7 separate regions of the Homo sapiens genome follow, and all the other regions are linked to region 3. Evidence: promoter capture Hi-C in 16 types of primary human blood cells and fetal thymus (Javierre and others, 2016). All regions are on one chromosome and are shown on one strand. Each heading gives the region's core, a stretch centred on a gene start or on the middle of the fragment in contact. The rest is flanking DNA. Distances are from core to core; before and after follow the strand shown. Region 1 has its middle 170 kb from the start of SYT6. Region 2 has its middle 170 kb from the start of TRIM33. Region 3 holds the start of OLFML3 (olfactomedin like 3). Region 4 has its middle 150 kb from the start of TRIM33. Region 5 overlaps TRIM33 (tripartite motif containing 33). Region 6 overlaps TRIM33 (tripartite motif containing 33). Region 7 overlaps TRIM33 (tripartite motif containing 33).

The links. The method cuts DNA at HindIII sites, captures the fragments that hold promoters and counts their contacts. A CHiCAGO score of 5 or more calls a contact.
Region 1: a fragment that was not itself captured here is called in contact with the fragment with the promoter of OLFML3 in region 3 in 4 of 17 cell types (M1 macrophages, M0 macrophages, M2 macrophages and 1 more); the score reaches 7.6 in M1 macrophages.
Region 2: a contact is called between a fragment that was not itself captured here and the fragment with the promoter of OLFML3 in region 3, in 9 of 17 cell types (M1 macrophages, megakaryocytes, M0 macrophages and 6 more). The highest score is 18.7, in M1 macrophages.
Region 4: a contact is called between a fragment that was not itself captured here and the fragment with the promoter of OLFML3 in region 3, in 4 of 17 cell types (M1 macrophages, M2 macrophages, megakaryocytes and 1 more). The highest score is 10.5, in M1 macrophages.
Region 5: a fragment that was not itself captured here is called in contact with the fragment with the promoter of OLFML3 in region 3 in 1 of 17 cell types (megakaryocytes); the score reaches 5.1 in megakaryocytes.
Region 6: a fragment that was not itself captured here is called in contact with the fragment with the promoter of OLFML3 in region 3 in 3 of 17 cell types (total CD8 T cells, megakaryocytes and naive CD8 T cells); the score reaches 9.0 in total CD8 T cells.
Region 7: a contact is called between a fragment that was not itself captured here and the fragment with the promoter of OLFML3 in region 3, in 1 of 17 cell types (M1 macrophages). The highest score is 6.1, in M1 macrophages.

What each region holds. Positions count from the first base shown.
Region 1 is chr1:114,318,530-114,321,229 of GRCh38, reverse strand. No RefSeq gene overlaps it. Among named protein-coding and RNA genes, the nearest start is that of SYT6, 170 kb to the right of the region's middle. The HindIII fragment of the contact is 349 bases long and covers 1,114-1,462 here.
Region 2 is chr1:114,338,450-114,341,161 of GRCh38, reverse strand. No RefSeq gene overlaps it. Among named protein-coding and RNA genes, the nearest start is that of TRIM33, 170 kb to the left of the region's middle. The HindIII fragment of the contact is 3,280 bases long and covers 1-2,712 here.
Region 3 is chr1:113,978,192-113,980,891 of GRCh38, reverse strand. OLFML3 (olfactomedin like 3) reads right to left here and starts at 1,418. Exons shown (of 3, transcript NM_020190.5): 1 at 1,262-1,418; 2 at 275-560. The coding sequence starts at 1,375. RefSeq lists an enhancer at 1,341-2,174. The HindIII fragment of the contact is 3,076 bases long and covers 1-2,700 here.
Region 4 is chr1:114,354,951-114,357,650 of GRCh38, reverse strand. It overlaps the pseudogene LOC100421116. Among named protein-coding and RNA genes, the nearest start is that of TRIM33, 150 kb to the left of the region's middle. The HindIII fragment of the contact is 5,260 bases long and covers 1-2,700 here.
Region 5 is chr1:114,409,950-114,412,649 of GRCh38, reverse strand. TRIM33 (tripartite motif containing 33) reads left to right here. Exons shown (of 20, transcript NM_015906.4): 12 at 2,334-2,466. Among named protein-coding and RNA genes, the nearest start is that of TRIM33, 100 kb to the left of the region's middle. The HindIII fragment of the contact is 6,971 bases long and covers 1-2,700 here.
Region 6 is chr1:114,429,867-114,432,566 of GRCh38, reverse strand. It overlaps TRIM33 (tripartite motif containing 33), which reads left to right. Exons shown (of 20, transcript NM_015906.4): 6 at 1,655-1,769. Among named protein-coding and RNA genes, the nearest start is that of TRIM33, 80 kb to the left of the region's middle. The HindIII fragment of the contact is 4,986 bases long and covers 1-2,700 here.
Region 7 is chr1:114,393,774-114,396,473 of GRCh38, reverse strand. TRIM33 (tripartite motif containing 33) reads left to right here. Exons shown (of 20, transcript NM_015906.4): 20 at 1-2,700. Among named protein-coding and RNA genes, the nearest start is that of TRIM33, 120 kb to the left of the region's middle. The HindIII fragment of the contact is 262 bases long and covers 1,309-1,570 here.

The DNA.
Region 1 (2,700 bases), core at 39-2,538, 340 kb before region 3:
CCATATCTGATTAAGACAAATTTAGGTACATTTAGAACAGGGCTGAATTAAAAAAAAAAGCAGAGAGGAGTGTTGCTTTGACCATTGTGAAAATCGGTCATGAACTGAGAAGGACGAGAAACCCAATCTCTGCACCTAAGAACCAAACTAGAACAACTTCACTACAGAAACCATCCCTGCCTGCTCCTGAATGCAGGCTCTAATCTATTCTCTGCAATGTCTTGTCCTCATATCTTGAAGCAGATTGTCCAGAGTTCATTAGATAAACCAGTGGTCCAGCCACATTCTCAGAACACTAAGGCTAGGTTAGGTTAAATAAATCATGCAAGGTCATTTATTGCAGGGCTTCTCATAGCCTAACTGCATTGTGCATCTCCAAGAGGACCACATAATATGAAGCATTTCTGAAACATGTGTATCTTGGAATGCTTTATTTTCATGTAAATCTAGCATTCCATGAATCACACTTTGGGGAATGCTGTGGTAGATGAGGTTACACTGATGCATGGGATGAGTGATAAGATGTTAGATCATACTGTAGAGACTTCAGGGATTCTTCTGCCCTGCCCCAAATTTTCATTAAGGGAGGTGTTATTATCTCCATTTCTGTAGTTAAATGACACATCTTAAAAATATGTATTTAAAAGACACATGTATTTAAAAGACACGTTTTTAGATATGTATTAAAAAGACACATATAAGAACTGAAAGACCAAATTAAGATCTTGGTCTTCTATCATGTAGGGCAGTGTTGTATGACATGGTGATATTTTCTCTAAATGCTTTAATGAGCATTGTGAAAACAGTATTAACACCACTCTATTAACTCTAGTATATAATCTGTAGCATTGCCTTTCATGGTATATTTGTGGCAAAAGTTTCTGAAGTTTTGATAAAATAAATACCAGCTGGTTAGCTTATATGGTTGGGAGTTAGTCTGTTTTTATATAAATTTCTCAAACTACAAGCTCTATCAAAGTTAAATATTTCCTTTTTGGATGCTTTGGTCTGTTATTTCTCTACTGACATTGATCCCCAAATAATATTTTAGAGGTTTACTCTTCCTTTCTCCATTTCTATCTGCTTGGGATGATTCTAAAAGACAAAAAAGCTTAAAATGAATCGCAGTCCTATCCACAGCAAAAAATACTGCTACCTTGAATTTTAAGGAAAAGAAGAAATTATCAAGAAAATCTTATCTGAGTATTCTAAGGATTAATGGAGTTCATAAGTGTAAAATGCTTGGTGCAGACAGTATATATAAATGTCTGCTAAATAAAAATTTAAAAACTAGCTAGACATTGGTGTAGGGATACAAATTTCTTCCTACGTGAATACAAATTCCACAGAGGACTCAGAAAGAATAAGCAGTTTTCTCCTTTTTATAGTAAAGAAAGAAGTAAGAGTCTTTCAATGCTGACTCTTTTTAAGCCAAGAAAACAAGAAAAACAATCTCAAAGCTTTAAATAAAACTAGTTTCCTTGAACAAGACTTGTTATTACTTGGACAGAAAAACCAAATGGCTTTCATTACTCACCAGCAGAGAAACCACACGATTCGAGGGTATAAAATATGTCTATGAATAGTGAGTTGCTGGCTGTCTCTCTTACTTTGAAGATGTTGGCTCAGCTAGCTTTACAAATCACATCTTTTTCTTCCAAAGAACCTATATTTTCTTCATTTGTCAGGAATGACATTGGGTGGAGAGCTTCTGGGATTTACTCTATGAAATCTTGCAAGCTATATCCTAAACTACTCTCTGCAGTGAATTCTAGTCCAAGACTCATCAGTTCTCGAATAATTGTGTGCTTATGGCATAAATAGTAATTGAGAAGGAAGAAAACTCCAGAGGTCATTTTCTATACAAACATAAAGATTTGTGGAATGTCTAAAAGCTGGACTGGGAATATAAAATCATAATATAAATCAGTTATTTTTGCTGTCACCTGGGAACATTTTTGGTCACCATAAGATGTTTAGTGGCAGGTTTTCATAAATAGATGCTGGGAAATCAGGAGGCGGGGTTTGATGAATATTTTATTCTGTGCCCAAAAAAGGTATTTTTAAACCACCAACTCTTTCCGTGAGAAAAAAATTCCACTCTGCCAAAGAGAACATATTTCAGAAAGAATAATTTAGGGAGTCCAGGGACCTCAGAAACCATCAAAAGAGGCAAAACAGAGTTGTATAGTGGCCACAAAATTCCTCATTGCTTTAGAGAGAAAACAGTAAATGCATTTTATAAGGAAAATTAATTTTAAGATGTCAAGTTTTCCCTCAGCACATCTTGCTTATTTTTTCATGTTTAATGTTTTTTGGAGCTCATTCTGCAAAAAAAAAAAAAAAAAAGCTTTTCTTAAGTGCATAATATTTCTAAAACCTTCAAGGAGAGAGGTAAGTCGTTTCTAACTCACGAATCTAGGTCCAACATTCCATTTCTCAAATGATACTACATGTGCTCATAATTTTAAAAAGTTTATTGAACGTGGAAAGTTTGACAGCAGATAAGAAGGTAAGAATATGATAGCTCTTCTTAAACATGAATGAAATATGGCATTAAAAATAGGCATTCTCAATCTTTTTGGAGATGGTACACCCAGTTGGTTGATTTCTCATCTCTGTCTCATGCCTAGCACTTAACTGCTTCTTAGAACAGCTTTCTGATATTTTTCAAGTTAATTTTGTTTTGATAGTACTCTT
Region 2 (2,712 bases), core at 1-2,500, 360 kb before region 3:
TGGTATCCTCCCCACCTCCTTTAAGGGCATGTCCTGGAGATGACCCATGCTGTGGTTTGAGTGATGGTGTCCCCTCCAACATTTACATATTGAAACTTAATCCTCATAGTGGCAGTATTAAGAGGTGGGGCCTTTTGGGAGATGCTTAGATCATGAGGGCTTCTCCCTTGTGAATAGGAATAAAGCCTTCATAAAAGAGCCTTCACAGAGAGTCTGGCCCTTTTTTGCCCTTCTGTCATGTGAGGACATAGCATTTTTCACCTCTGGAGGATGCTGCAACAAGGCACCATCTTGGAAGCAGAGAGCAGCCCTCACTGACAGCAAACCTACTGGTGCCTTGATCTTGAACTTCCCAGCCTCCAGAACTGTGATAAATAAATTCCTGTTCTTCACAAGTTACCCGGTCTCAGGTATTTTGTTATAGCAGCACAATGGATGAAGATAGCCCACCTTTCTTCTTTCACTTCATTGGCCAGAGCTGGTTATATAACCATATCAGCTGAAAGGAGGCTGGGTTAGAGAGAACAAGAGAGTGGATATTGATGGAGAACTTCAATTTCTACCCCAGACTTCATCAGTTAGCCCCCATCAAGTCAGGTTGGATCATTTTTATTACCATTCCAGCCCTCTTGTCTATTATAACTACCATGATTATCTTGTCTTTTGTAGTTAAGTGCCTGAAATCAGCTTCTGCTATTCTGGTATCTTTCCTTTTCCATTAAAATCAGGGATCCCATTTCAACTGCTTACAATTGCATCTTTAGTTTACGGAAATCAGTCACAAGACTGCTTCTCAGAGATAGAGGTGCTCCCTCACCAATCTGGGCCCTCTTCTGGGCCCTCTTGAGAGAGAATTAGCAGATGAATGGGTAGGTGACACATGATAAATCCTCTCCAGCACTTCTATATTCCGAAATTTTTGGATTATTTCTTCCATTGTTTCATGGAATTTCATTTCACATGAGCCACTGTTGAGCCCACATTTCAAAACAACTGACAGGCAGCAATTAGGGCCACTTGCAATGGCTGGAGATAGCACACTGTCTCCTGATTTCTGGTGAGCATACTCCTGATTAATTTCAGGCTGATTTAAAATAATGCACGGTGCTGGACACTGTGGTGCACCACTGTATCCCCTCTCAGAAATGAAGGACTTACTCTCCCAGCTGCTGGGAGTGGGCCCTCAGCCAGCAGCTCACTCTGGGGATGCCTTGAGTGAAGAAATGTCCCTAGCCCAAGGTCATGTCCCCATCATGAAGCAGCCACATCCAACGACTGGTCAAAGTTGGGTTAACAAAGGCTGGCTCCTTGGTTCCAACTCAGAAGAGCTCTAAATGACCATCTAGCTCCAGAGCTATGCTAATTGTGCGCACAGCACAACTGCTTCCTTGCCCAAGGCTGCTTCTGTCCCTTCTGCTCCACAGGGGTGGTCTCAAGCTCACTTCCTGATAAAGGTCTTGCTTGCTAATCTCCACCTTAGAATCTGCTTATCTGAGTCTTTTGGTGGGGATTTAACTTTTTAAGTAATCAAAAGCTCCACTTCCTGCTTCCAGGTCATGCGAGAGTCTGACTCTATTTACAGACTTATGAGCCATGAGTGACGGCGTGGAGGAAAGAGGCATGAGCAGAGCTGGCTTCTTTCTGTGAGGAAGTCTGTGCACAGAGTTAGAGCATCTTCAAACTACGCAGGAGCAGCCTCATCAGACAAGGGAGGGACATGCCTTTTAGCTGGCAAGAGAGACCCGGAGGGTTCCATGTTTGGTGTTCTATGAGTCTCCGAGATCTTCCCAAATGTCCTTATTACAATTTTGGGGGTCGCTGTCTTTTTTTGGGGCGGGGACATGGTTTTTCTCTGTCGTCCAGGATGGAGTGCAGTGGTGCAGTCTTGGCTCACTGCAGCCTCAACCTCCCAGGCTAAGTGATCTTCCCACTTCAGCTTTCTGAATAGCTGAGACTACAGGTATGCAACACCATGCTCAGTTAATTTTTTTTGTAGAGATGAGGTCTCAGTATATTGTCCAGGCTAGTCTTAAACTCCTGAGCTCAAGTGATCCTCCTGCCTTGACTTCCCAAAGTGTAGGATTATAGGCGTGAGCCATCGTGCCCCATGTAGGGGCCACAGTCCTTTCTGAACAATGCCCTATCCTTTATATAACATACCTAGGGAGTTTTGATATAGAAGTTAAGAAATTACTTAGGCAGATAGTGAGGGTAGGGAAGTCCTCAGTAAGATTTTCCTTTTAATGAAAAGCAGCCCCAAATCATTTTCCCTTCTAACAAAGAGCAGCCTGTAAAATTGAGCTGATAGATACCGGCAGTTGTGCCAATCATGTTCAAAATGGTGGCCCCATCTTCCCTTCTCTTTATCAGCCACGTGTACAGTAAAAAGGAGACAAGGTGGCACGGGTCAGCAGGAGAGTTCATTTACATAATAAGATTAGGGCAGGGTAGCCAGCCTTCCCCGGGGCTGTGTAAACATCATACCTGATCCAACCAATCTGTGAGCCCTACGTAAATCAGGCGACATCTCCTCAAGCTGGACTATAAAACCCAGTGCCTCCTCCACCAGCTGGTCATTTTCTGTTGGGAGACCCCTCTCTAGAGAGAGAGCTGTTTCTATTTCTCTTCTCTTCTCTCTATTAAATCTCTGCTCCTAAACTCCTCGTGTGTCTCCCTGTCCTAAATTTTCCCGGCGCGAGATGACGAACCCCA
Region 3 (2,700 bases), core at 169-2,668:
GAACTCCCCCAGGGTGGGTGATCTGGAGAATAGTGAGCATTTGCCCAGTGGTTGCCTCCAATCTTAGGGAGAATTGAGAAAGAGCGGGTACCACAGCGGCCTGGATCCCCAGAACCTCTCCTTAATAGACCTGGCATTACAGAGGTTTCCCTAAAACAGATTCCAGAAGACAGAGCCACAATGGACTGGGACAAAGCGAAAAAAAGAGTAAGAAGCAAGGAAGGAAGAATATCGGTTCTGAGAAGAGTTAGGGGCCTGCTTTCAGATTATTTACCTGTCACCATATCGTACTTCTCATTCCTTCTTCCCTTGCCTTTGGTCCCAGGGCCTCCAGTCACCTTCTCATCAAACTCTACACAGGGCAGAGCTGGGTTCTGGGTCTCCAGATAGTCTACCTCCCGCTCCAGACGATCCACTCTCCCGGAGATGGTGTCGGCCTCAGTTCTGAGTGCCTCCCGCTCCTTCTCTGCCACCTCCAGCAGTGGCAGCATCTTGTTCTTGAAGTCCCGCAGCTCAGCAGCATGCCGACTACTCTGGTCCTGGCACTGGGCCAGCCGTTCCTGAAGGGATGGGGGATCAGGAGGGAGGCTGCAGGGTTACAACTCCCAGGCAGGGAGAGGCCCAACTCGGGAGTCAGGAATGGGAAAAAAAGAGCAAACTCAGCCAGGCTTCAATATCCCCTTCCACTCCTGCAGAAAAGGAAACCAGATGTGCAGAGGTGCTAAATGTGCAAAGAGCCTAGCTGAGATTCACCTAGGCCCCTACCCCGACTCCATGTCCTCCAGCCTGTGTTCTCTGTGAGCAGTGCCACTGAGCCATCTGAGCCTCTAGGCAGGTCTAAGCGCATGAAGGTGTGAAGAGGTCTCTGCTCCCTTAGCAATTATCCTCTCGGACACTAAAATGCTACGGATCTCAACCTGTTAAAAAGACAGGAAGTTATAGATTCCCCGGGAACCTCCAACTTCAACAGAATCATCACCTTCTCTGGAGATGCAGCCCCACAATTTTGGCTCTCGTTTCCACTCTGCCCCCTTATTCTATCTAATCCCAGAGGTAAAACGCAAAAGTCGATTTGCTTTGGAATTGTTCTATGTGGGGTAAGAGGAGGGCTTGTCATTCCGAAGGTCCTCTTATTAAGAGAGAATTTTCTGTAGACTCTAACAGAGCCCTTTCTTGTTATCCCCAGATCCCTAACAAACTGGTTGAACCAATAGCCCTGGAATCCTTCTAGGCGGGGCTAGAAGAGAAAGGGGTCCCTCACCTCTAAAGCAGCTAGTCGGCGTTCCATGTACTCCACAAGGTGGTGCTGCTGTCCTTGGAGGGGTCCCGACCATGACAAAAGGAACAAGATGAGGAGAGGGGTGCTGGGCCCCATGGCAGCCTGGAGAGTGGTGCCAGAGTAGAAGGAACGTACAGTCAGCCTCTTCCCCTCAAGCCCGAGGGTTAGCTTTGGAGGCGGGGTGGGGGCGGTGCCTTCTCTCCTGATCTCTGGGTCTCTCTCACTACTCTGGAATGCTTTCAGTTCTCTTTACAACCCCCACCCCCTCCTTTCCGCCAGGATTGATCAAACACAGATGGCCCCATTGCACAGCAGCCAGAAGCCTTAACCACCTCCCGCCTAGGCTGTAGGGTCCTCTGGAGGGGAAAGAGATGGAAACCCGAAAGCAGAGGCCTTCTAGGCAGTCAAGCAGGGAAGCTAGCTGCAGAAAGCAGAGACCCCAGAGAAAACTCAGCAAACGCCATTCCTGTTTTAGGAAAGTTTCACCAGTGCTGACTTAAGAAACTGACATTTTTCATTAATCTTTCCCTTTCCCTGCAATAGAGTGGGTTTTCAGCCTTGTTCAGTAGAAGCTGGGAGCTGGGGAGGTGAGGCTTGAAGGGAGGAAGCAGGAAAACAATGGCCCAAGTGGTCAAGCCCAACTTATTCTAAAGCTCATTGGCGCCACCTTGTGCTAAGCAGCTGGTGTCATCTCTCATGATAATACAGAAACTAAGGCTTAGACTTCACCCCATGAGGAAAATTTTCCACAAAAGCCAAATATATTGAATTTACAGGGGTTTTCACCACTGAAATGCATATTTCCCCCAAGACTATCCAATTACTACTTTGGGGGCTATGCAAATATCTGATTTAGCCCAAGGAAGAAAATATAACTGAGATTAAAAAAAAAAAAAAAACAGGTCACTGAGAAGTTAGTAAATTAACTCGATCGTCTGGAAGTTAAGGCTGACAGCAGCGCTGTTTTACATGGCTTTCCTTTGCTTGAAAGAGGCCAGATATAGTCTCTCACCAAAACTGAGGAGTGTTCAGTGAGTTCACACTAATTTACTATACATTCATGTATTGCGGGGGGGCGGAATCTGATATATATATATATGTTGTTGCAGTCTAGATCAATGTATTCTGACTTCCTTACCACTGGGAGAAAAGACTATTGGTTATTTCTCTTGGTTGTGGTCCAAAAGGGTATTTCTGAGTGTTTCTCATTTCTATATCCCAACTAAGGCTGCAGGAGCCCAAAATGAATTAATGGCCACCATAAGGTAGACTTGGGCCATAAGGTAGACACACGGGCCGAAAAAAAAAATCAAATAGAGCATTTACTCAGAGACCTGCAGTCATTAATCGAAACAAACCCCTATTTCTTTATCGGGAGAAATTCTATTCACTTTAGAATCAACAGAATCTGATGAGAGGTT
Region 4 (2,700 bases), core at 115-2,614, 380 kb before region 3:
TGTTAGGCTGGGCGTGGTGGCTCACACCTGTAATCCCAGCACTTTGGGAGGCTGAAGTGGGCGGATCACTTGAGGTCAGGAGTTCGAGACCAGCCTGGCCTACATGGTGAGACCCCCGTCTCTACTAAAAATACAAAAATTAGCCGGGCCTGGTATTGTGTGCCTGTAATCCCAGCTACTTGGGAGGCTGAGGCAGAAGAATTGCTTGAACCTGGGAGACAGAGGTTGCAGTGAGCTGAGATCGCACCACTGCACTCCAGCCTGGATGACAGAGGGAGACTTCGTCTCAAAAAAAAAAAAAAAAAAAAAAAGGCATGCCTTAAAAAAATACTGAATAGAATGCATTCAGGTTATAAATTCTGTTCAGAATACCTGAATAGAATGCATTCAGGTTATAAAATCTTAAAGAAACACAAAGAACCGATTAAGTCACAATGGTGGTTACTTTTGGAGGAAGGGAGTGGGCTGTGATAGGAACATGTCAGAAGGTGGGACTTCTGGGGTGGCCAGCAGAGTTTTATTTCTTGGTCCAATTAATAGTTATGTGGGTGTCAACCCAATCAAAATTCACACAACTACATTTGTATGATTTTTCTGTATCTGCACTTTATTTTACAATTAAAAGTTTAAAATGAATTTTTGTTTTTATTTTTATTTTGAGACAGAGTCTTACTCTGTCATCCAGACTGGAGTGCAGTGGCATGATCTCAGCTCACTGCAACCTCCACCTCCCAGGTTCAAGTGATCCTCAAACCTCAGCCTCCCCAGTAGCTGAGATTACAGGTGCACACCACCATGCCCAGCTAATTTTTACATATTTTGATAGAGATGGATTTTTGCCATGTTGGCCATGGTGGTCTTGAACTCCTGACCCAGGTGATCTGCCCACTTCAGTCTCCCAAAGTGCTGGGATTGCAGGCGTGAGCCACGTGCCTGGCCTAAAATGAATTTTTTTTTTTTTTTGAGATGGAGTCTCGCTCTGTCGCCCAGGCTGGAGTGCAGTGGCACGATCTCAGCTCACTGCAATCTCCGCCTCCCAGATTCACACCATTTTCCTGCCTCAGCCTCCCAAGTAGCTGTGACTACAGGTGCACACCACCACGCCTGGCTAATTTTTTGTATTTTTAGTAGAGACGGGGTTTCACCATGTTAGCCAGGATGGTCTCGATCTCCTGACCTCGTGATCTACCTGCCTCGGCCTCCCAAAGTGCTGGGATTACAGGCATGAGCCACCGCACCTGGCCCTAAAATGAATTTTTTAAAAAAGATTTTTCTCTTCTTTTCTTTCTTTCTTTCTTTCTCTCTTTTTTTTTTTTTTTAATTTGTTGAGACGGTCTCACTCTGTCACCCAGGCTGGAGTGCAGTGGCACGATCTAGGCTCACTGCAACCTCTGCCTCCCGGGTTCAAGTGATTCTCCTGCCTCAGCCTCCCAAGTAGCTGGGAGTACACGCAGCTACCACGCCCAGCTAATATTTGTATTTTTAGTAGAGACAGGGTTTCACCATGTTGGCCAGGCTGGTCTCAAACTCCTGGCCTCAAGTGATCCACCCGTCTCAGCCTCCTAAGTGCTGCGATTACAGGCGTGAGCCACTGCACCGGGCCTAAAACAAGATTTTATGGACAACTTTATGCCAGTAAATTGGAAAATTTAGACGAAATCAACAAATTTCTAGAAAAATTAAAACTGATGCAAATTTTTATAACGTTTGAGAAATGCATCTATAGTTAACCTTTCATTAAAGAAAACTCCACAGATAAATGGCTTTCTAAACTAATTCTAGGCCAGACATGGTGGCTTACGCCTGCAATCCCAGCACTTTGGGAGGCCGAGGTGGGCAGATCACCTGAGATCGGGGGTTTGAGACTGGCCTGGCCAACATGGTGAAACCCCATCTCTACTAAAAATGCAAAAATTAGCCAGGCGTGGTGGCAGGCACCTATCATCCTAGCTACTCAGGAGGCTGAGACAGGAGAATCGCTTGAACCTGGGAGGCAGAGTTTGCAGTGAGCAGAGATCGCGCCCTTGCACTCCCACCTGGGTGACAGAGTCTCAAAAACTCTGTCTCAAAAACAAACAAACAAAAAACCAAAAAAACTAATTCTACGTATATGAGGAGGAAATAATACTTATTTTGCCCAATCCCTTCCAAAGGAAGTGAAAGAGGGAGTACTTACCAAATCATTTTCTATTCCCCCTTTTTCAAGGCAAGAAAACCCAACTGATGAAGTGTCTTAAACCTTTCATGCTTTGCTGGTTCCATAGACTCATGGACTTTTCATACACAATCTCTCCATTCATCAGACCTCATCCTTTATTGCCTCATCACATTCTGTTCCCATTCTTCCACTTCCATATTCATAACCTTTTTGCCATGTTTCTTTTCTCTCAAATCAAACCAGACCAGATGTTTCAGTCAGCGCATAACTATTCGCATCCAAATTTGTACAAGAGGTCAGCTAACTGCTGAGTCTCAGTCCTACAGGACACCTACCCAATTTTAGTGGGGATGTACATAGTGGAGGTCAGAGGCTACCCATCATGACTGAAAGGCTGATTCCTTTTCAATTCACCAACAAACTGCATTTATTTATTTATTTTTTTATATTGAGACAAGTTCTCACTCTGTTGCCCAGGCTGGAGTGCAGTGGCGTGATCATGGCTCACTGCAGCCTCAACCTCATGGGCTCAATGCATCCTC
Region 5 (2,700 bases), core at 33-2,532, 430 kb before region 3:
AGTGAAAAAAATAGATGAAAAAAGCGTACAGTATATAATTCAAATTATATAAAACTCTGGAAAAAAAAACTAAAGCTGAAGGAAGCAGATGAGTGGTTGGTTGAGGACAGGTTGTTTGAGAGAGGGATTGATTACCATGGGGCATGAGGAATCTTGGGGGTGATAGATATGATCTGTTCACTATTCTTGATTTGGGTTTCCCAGTTGTAGACTATGTGAAAATGTGTTAAACTTTCACATCAGGTACTACACTTTGAATATATTTAGTTTATTGTACATCATTTATACCTTAATGTCATTTGTAAAAAGCTGCATTGAGGCACAATGACTGTATAGTTTTAAACACATATTTCTGTAAGCGAAGTTGGTAGAAGTGTAATTACTGGGCCAAAAGTAATTACACATTTAAATTTCACATAGGTATTGGCAAATTGCTCTACAAAAAATATTGTGCCAGCTTATATATTTGAAAATGCCCATTTTTGCATTGTCTTCCCAATACTAGGTAAATTAATCATTCTTCCATCTTTTCCAGTGATGGATTAAAATGACATTATTGTTAACTTTATTTTCATTTCTTTGATTGGTGAAATTGGTTTTCTTATGTTCGTTGATTATTTTTATTTCTTCTGTAAATTATCTTTGTCTTTTGTGAAATATCTTTGCTCATTTTCCTATTGGACTGTGTTTTTACTTTTAAATCATGAAAATTATTTATATAATAATTATATTTCCATGTACTTATTCAGGGATGCTCAAAAAACATTGCTTTAATGAATAAATGAATTAATGTCTTTCCAGTTAGACTTCTAACTTTATTTATGGTGACTATCCATGTCTAGTGAAACCCACAGGTGAATGCTTCAGTTAGCACCTATCTGTTGGAGGTTATAATGACATCAGGGATGTCCTTTAATGTATTTCCTGTTTGCCTCTTCCTGACCTGTCCATCCTCTACCCTTAGAGTTATCTTTCTAGCAAAAGATACAAATTGCAGGTGAGGAGTATAAAAAGGAGTGGAAATAGGTAACATGGGATTTTCATGTCAGTTTTGAATCATCTTCCCCCTTCTGTTTTTAGGTGGGATGCATCCCCATTTTCATCTCTGGCCCATATTAGGTACTCCCCCCTCATAACAAATCTTCCTGTTGACTTGAGTTGCAGCTAGGGATTCACCTGTAGTCACAGCTTTGCAAGTGCATCCTTGGCCAACAGCTATGACCACAGGGTAACACAACTGCTATTGTCCTTTGATTATCCCTCCAACTAACCTACTGCCTACTCCTACCTTCAGCCCTTCATGTCTCTGGCATGGGTTTTGTTTTGTTTGTAATCCCAGTACTTTGGGAGACTAAGGTGTGCAGATTGCTTGAGCTCAGGAGTTGGAGACCAATCTGGGCAATGTAGCAAAATCCCATCTCTATAAAAAAAAAACACAAAAATTAGCCAGGCGTTGTGGCGCATGCCTGTAGTCCTAGCTATTCAGGAGGCTGAAATGGAGGGCATGGCTTGAGCCTGGGAGGTGGAGGTTGCAGTGAGTCAAGATGATGCCACTGCTCTTCAGTCTGGACAGCAGAGCCAGACCCTGTCTCAAAAATAAATAAAAGAAGAATATGACCATTTCTTTTATGAAATAGTATAAGATTTAAGGTAATATTCATACTTAAATAATTTTTTTTACTCTTTCTTACACATTTTGTCATTTAATCATCGGAGTTCTGCAATATAGGTGGCATGTTTTAAGGATAGGAAACTGACGTTCAGGTTGAGAACCAGCCCAGAATCATAGTTATGGGTCTTCTGGCTTTATCGTACTGCCTCTAAGTAAGGGAAGGGCTCATATGTACTGTTAACTGTGCCCTTTTTTTTTTGTAGTAAGGGGCCTTGTGTGTCAAGCTAAGGGCTTTCTGTGGGCTATAAGAATTTTTCAGAGTTTCAGAGCTGGGTACTAACATAATTACATTTCTATTTAAGTGAATGATTGTGGACACTGAAATGGAGGGATACTGGGGACAAGAATACTGATAAATAGGTCCTGCAGCAATTTTGAGAAACAGCAGAAGTGTCAGAGCATGTCAGCTATTTTCATAATAGAACATATAGGATTTGTTTTGCTCTGAGCACCTAGTTGTTTGCTGAATAATACAGTTTTATCTAAATAAACTTTATACTGTGTGGGCCCTCAGTGGACCCTAAGGAAGCAATAATAAGGCTCAGCTTGATATTGGATAATCTGTTAGTTTATTAATAAACTGAGTATAAGCAGTGACATAAAATTAATAACTTCTCTGCTTTAATCAAAGCAAATTTGTCTTTATCTTCTTTCTCTTCAGTTGGAAGATGCTGGCTCAAGTAGTTTAGATAATCTACTAAGTAGATACATCTCAGGCAGTCACCTACCCCCACAGCCTACAAGCACCATGAATCCTTCTCCAGGTCCCTCTGCCCTTTCTCCGGGATCATCAGGTAAAGCAAACGGGTATTACCTTATTTTTTAACACCTTAAAAAAACAGTGTCAGTATCTGTCTTAGTCAGAATTCTCCAGAAAAACAGAATAAGTAGGAGGTCTACTTGAAGAGAGAAAGGGAGATTGAGAGAGATTTATTTTAAGGAATTGGCTCATGTGATTGTGGGTGTTGGCAGGGAGGTGAGGCAGGCTGGAGACCCAGGTAAGAGTATTGTTACAGTCTTGAGACAAA
Region 6 (2,700 bases), core at 99-2,598, 450 kb before region 3:
GATCCGCCTGCCTCAGCCTCCCAAAGTGCTGGGATTATAGGCCTGAGCCACTGTGCCCGGCCAGAACTTTTTATCTTAAGTAACACCAAAAGAAAATAAAAGGCTCCTTAGAGCTTGTAGATTGTACACACACACACACTCCATTGGTGGGTTTTTGTTTTTGGAAATGTTCAGTTGTTTTAGGTTAAACTGGTGATACAGTTGATTTGGAGAAGACTGTTTCTCAGAAATGATAGATGGATGTCTCTTTCAAAGGAAATGTAGTGAGTTGATTCATATGGCAGTCCCATATTTTTATACAGATGTTTTGTGTGTACATTGTATAAGTATTTTTTAAATATATTTTGTACACGTGTTCCAGAATCTGTATACAAAAGTAGGGCAAGAGGTTTACCTGTTACAAGATTGCACGGGGTTGAGGAGATTGATTTCATCTGTAGAAAGTTTTTAAAAAAACAGTATTAAAATCTCTGATAACTTCCCCTTTTAGACACATTTTTCACTGACCTATCTCCATTATTTTTTAATGTACATTTTTTTCTTTCTTCAAAACTGAACATACAGTAGACTTAATTAAATCCAATAGGAGTCTGACTGAGACTAACTACTCTCTAACTACTCTCTGTTTTCAGCATGCTTAGTGATTTCTATCTTCAGCCCAATCATTTTATATTTGAAACCTATATTTCTTATCACTAGTTATTAGTACCTTTATATATTAAAAATATCTTCCACTCACCTTAGTAAGATAAGGACAAAACTCAAAATTTTCAAGTAAGTGCCAAACGATGTACAGAGAAGGAAAAAAACTACATTATTTCTTGGAGTGTATTAAAGTTAACTAAATTCGAACTTGGCAAATGAAAGGCAGTTTAGGAGCTGAAAGCATGGGTTATAGTTTTTACAGAAGTAGAATGTATAAAAATTGAAGCTATGTCTTATGGTTGGTCGTTGACATTTTATATATTTATAGTGGTGGGATTATCCACTTCCTGTTTTGTAAATACCAAAGTATCAGCCACTTCATATTTGCACCTAAAACTTCCATAACTGCTTTGAGTGCTTACACCTACTTATAAAACATCTAAAGCTATTCTTAAAAATGGATTGAAAATGTTTTATGCCCTTTACTGTATACAAAGGGAAACCATATTAAGAGTAATTTTGAAGGGAGTGTATCAGAACCCATGTTTGAAGTGGCTAAGTTATAAATGAAAATAAATGCTTCTATGTTTAACTATTATCCTTTCAAAAGATAATTATTGCTTGTGACATTGTCCTTTTGCACATTGTTCTTGGAAAACGTCAAGGTTAAACAGAACCAATGTGCCACATTTGACACTATCCAGAAGTCACTGGTGTTTGTGCATCACATTCATGTCATAGTTACTTAAGTAGATTGCCATCCAGCTTAATAAACTGTCCTTTATGAGCATAATTTAAAATTACTAAATATTAGTTTCATTATTTGTCTATGTACATAACTTGTTTGGACCAAATTGGTCAGGTCTGCTGAAACATGAGTTGTACATTTTGACAAAGTTTTCATTTTAATTACTCGGTTAAGTGCCCAGTTGGATGAATTTCTGTAACAGTTGATGATTCAGAGACCTAGGATAAGTTGATAACCTAATGATGCATTTCTCTTATTCAGGATAAAAGAAGTAAATGAGACTAACAAACGAGTAGAACAGGAAATTAAAGTGGCCATTTTCACCCTTATCAATGAAATTAATAAGAAAGGAAAATCTCTCTTACAACAGCTAGAGGTATGGTTCAAAGCCAAAATAAAACAAAAACTGCTTCTCTTGCTCTTTAGCTGTTTTTAATGTTTATTGAAAACTATTTTAGATGGATTGGGGGGTATGGAAATAAAGGAAAACGTAAAATAAGGTTTTTAAAATTTACTTTTGGAAGAGACCTTTTCTAGTTAGTTACTTTGCGGCCCAATTTAATAACACTGACTTTAGCTGTATACCTTAGGAAATAGTGATGTCCTCTTAGAAATCAAATAATTGTTACTAAGACTGGGTATGGTGACTCACACCTGTAATCCCAACACTTTGGGAGCCCAAGGCAGACAGATCGCTTGAGCCCCGGGATCCAGCCCAGCCCAGGCAACATGGCGAAACCTGCCTCTACAAAAAATACAAAAATTAGCCAGGGTGGTGGCATGCACCAGTAGTCACAGCTACTCAGGAAACTGAGGTGGGAGGATCGACTGAGCCCGGGAGGTCAAGGCTGCAATGAGCTGTGATTGTGTCCTGCACTCCAGCCTGGGCAACAGAGTGAGACCCTGTCTCCAAAATGAAAAACAGAAAAAGAAAAAAGAAATGTTACTAAAATGTGATGTACGTAAAGGCAAAGTAGTCCCACCACATTTCTTCCCCACCCCCTTAAGATGGGGCCTCAATTTAATTTTACCATATAGATTCATGTTGGGCTTCTGCTTGAGTCATTTGTGTATTTTACCTTATTTTAAAAATATTTCCATAGTTTTGCAGAAAATGCTGCTCTTTTTGAAATTTATAAACCTTAAACTTAGTGAAAATTTTGTGATATTAGGTATTTATATTGCATATTTTGAAGTTTATTTGTAGGTGTAAGTTTCTAGATGAAAATCTAGTCAGTTCATGAAATCTAAATTTTTAATCAAAGTCTCCACTGCCGATTTGATTTATTTTTAGCAAATTTCAAATA
Region 7 (2,700 bases), core at 190-2,689, 420 kb before region 3:
GCTTATTATTGAAATATCGAAATATTGAAATAAACCCGGTGGGGTTAGATTACTCATCTGTCCACCAAGTGGGACATTTGCATGGACTGGGGGCTTAAAGGACTTAGAAGAGACCTGTAAGTAAATCCTGAAAATGAGCCAATCCCCACTTGAATGGTTACTGGAGTAAACCCACCTTTACCACCCCAATTACAGCACCCGAGGCCGATAAACCAACTTGGCTCTGGTTCATTTTTCTTTTCTTCATTTGTGATGCTCAGATTCAAAATGTGTGTTCTACACTGTTACAGGCTTCTCTTTTGTTTGATTAAAGATTTTAGTCCTACTTTTGTATGGACACATTAGAATATTCAGAGACCAAAATAGAAGAATTTGCTGTTAGATATTTTTCAGAAGTCAGCAGATTTGTGGCAAATCATTTATTTGCCTTTTTAAAAATTCATTTAAGCAGTTCAGAGAGTAGACTACTCAGAAAATTATTTCACGTAATTGTCTAAGAGGTCAATATTTTTTAATGCATATTGAATCAAATAAAGTGCTCTAAAGAAATTATTATACAAATTCCTTTGGGTTGTTTTTCTTTTCTTAACAAGGGGTGGGGGTAAACAGGAATATGATTCAGGCTTTCTGGTTGTGTATTTAAAGAGTATTGATTTTATTATTACTATTGATTTACTTTATTCCTGGCTTCCTTTTCACTTTTCTTTCAATTTTTAAAAAATAATTTAAGCCGTTGAAAATATACCAAACTGTTGAAACATTTTACTCAAATTTTAAATTCCTAAAAATGTTTTTTAATAAGAGGGAGAAAATTATTTAAAAATACTTATGCCTATGCCAATTTCCCTCTTTTTTCACAAAATCCATGATTTCAGTTTGTAAGTAGACATATATCTAAGGGCACATTTTTGGAAAGTGAGGAATAGCAGCAGTATAACTTCATTTTGTCAGGCCTTTGAGTTCTAATATTTTGTATTGCTCTTCAAATGGATCCTTTTAAAAAAATTGTAGATAATGAGTCATAAATAGATTCTGCCAACTGAGGGGAGAAACATTTTAAGTAAATATTTTTCAGTATTTGGGGCCTTAAAAAATAATTGTGTTTCCTTAAAATTACATGTTAGATAGAGTTTTTAGGTTTTTTTGGTTTTAAGATTGGTTAAAGCAATTTAAAAGCCACTTTTTTGTCAACATTTAATAGCCTCCACTTCTGTTAAGATAATGTATACTGCTGAGGAATTACTATTAATAGCTATCAACATACCACCATTAAATTAAGGTATTCACTTTAGATTTTTTATTAAAGCTTTTTTCTTGCACACTGATCGTTGTGTTTCTAAGCTGATTTTTTCAGCTCTAATATACCTATGGTTAAAAAGTATAAAAACTTAAATTGATATTTAGATATATGTTTTCCTATTAGTTTATGTTTTAAAAAGACAAAATTGTATCTGTCAGTCCCTGAAGGCAGTTTGTTTTTATACTCTCTCACATTTGTATTTGTTTTTTAAATGGCAGTATTTTAGAAGATTTGGAGAAAAGTCCACATAATAATGTTTTCTTAAAAGCTTTTAAAGTTTTTGCTGTACTTCAATTTACTTCTTCCATCAGAAAACTAAGAACAAAGTGTTGCTCAGTCTGTTCCGCTGACCTAAATTTGTGTTTTCAGCACTTGGCTCAGCCAATTCACTGAGTGAAGGAATTGCTTTATGAGGCAAAGCATGTGAAAGTTCTAAAGTATGGTTAGATTGTAGGTCGTGCTCTATATGGAAACATCAAACCATTACTACAGAGAAATGATAAGGCATTGGATCCACTATTGAAATTATTATTTTTGGATCAACAAGTTGGTACTTTCTGACTTCTGTATCTTAACATAAGGGAATTTTAGGTAATGCTAAGTCAGTTGTCTCATTTTTTGTGATAAGTTTTGGAATTTTTAGTTAATTGAAATAAATAATGCTTTTAAATAGAAGTAAAAGGTTTATAAGTGTGCAAATTGTAGATTTATCAATTACCTCAGCAGGTATCCTGCCATGTAATTATTAGTGATTAGTGTTAATAAGATAATAGATTCAGGTCTTCCAACTATGCCCTTGGATTGTGGCCTACTGTATGTTATTAAATGGTCTCTTACTATCCAAAATGGGAGTAGATGCTGTGGCCCCGTCTCCCTTGGCTTTTACGTCCCATATCCACCCCCATTCATGTACAACATGTGAAATATAAAAATCTCATTTCTTGTCAAAATCAGCACTGCTTATTTGCATACTCAGCATCGGATCAGTGAGTAGTTTTATAAAAAATCCACGCACCCAACTCCCTTAGTTAAAACAGATTCTTAATTCATACCATGAATTCTTAATTTCTGTACCATCTATGTTAATGATCTGCTGAAGGTGACTCAAGATTTTCAAGGTGTAATACAGTTTGATCATGTACCGGACCTGGATATTTAATTTTTTTTCCCTCACAGTTAATCTCCTCCTTGATAAAGCAATAACACTGCTTTGAGTCTGTTGCCTAATAGCATGTCAGAATCCTCTCCTGGATGGTGATTTTATAGGAAAGTTTGTATGCATATCACCCAGTCTATCTTTTAAAAATTAAGAAATTTAAATGTATGCTGGAAGTAATGACACTATATTGTGGCATTTTATTTTAAAAATTGGGGAAAGTTGCATATTTTTTTAAAAGTAA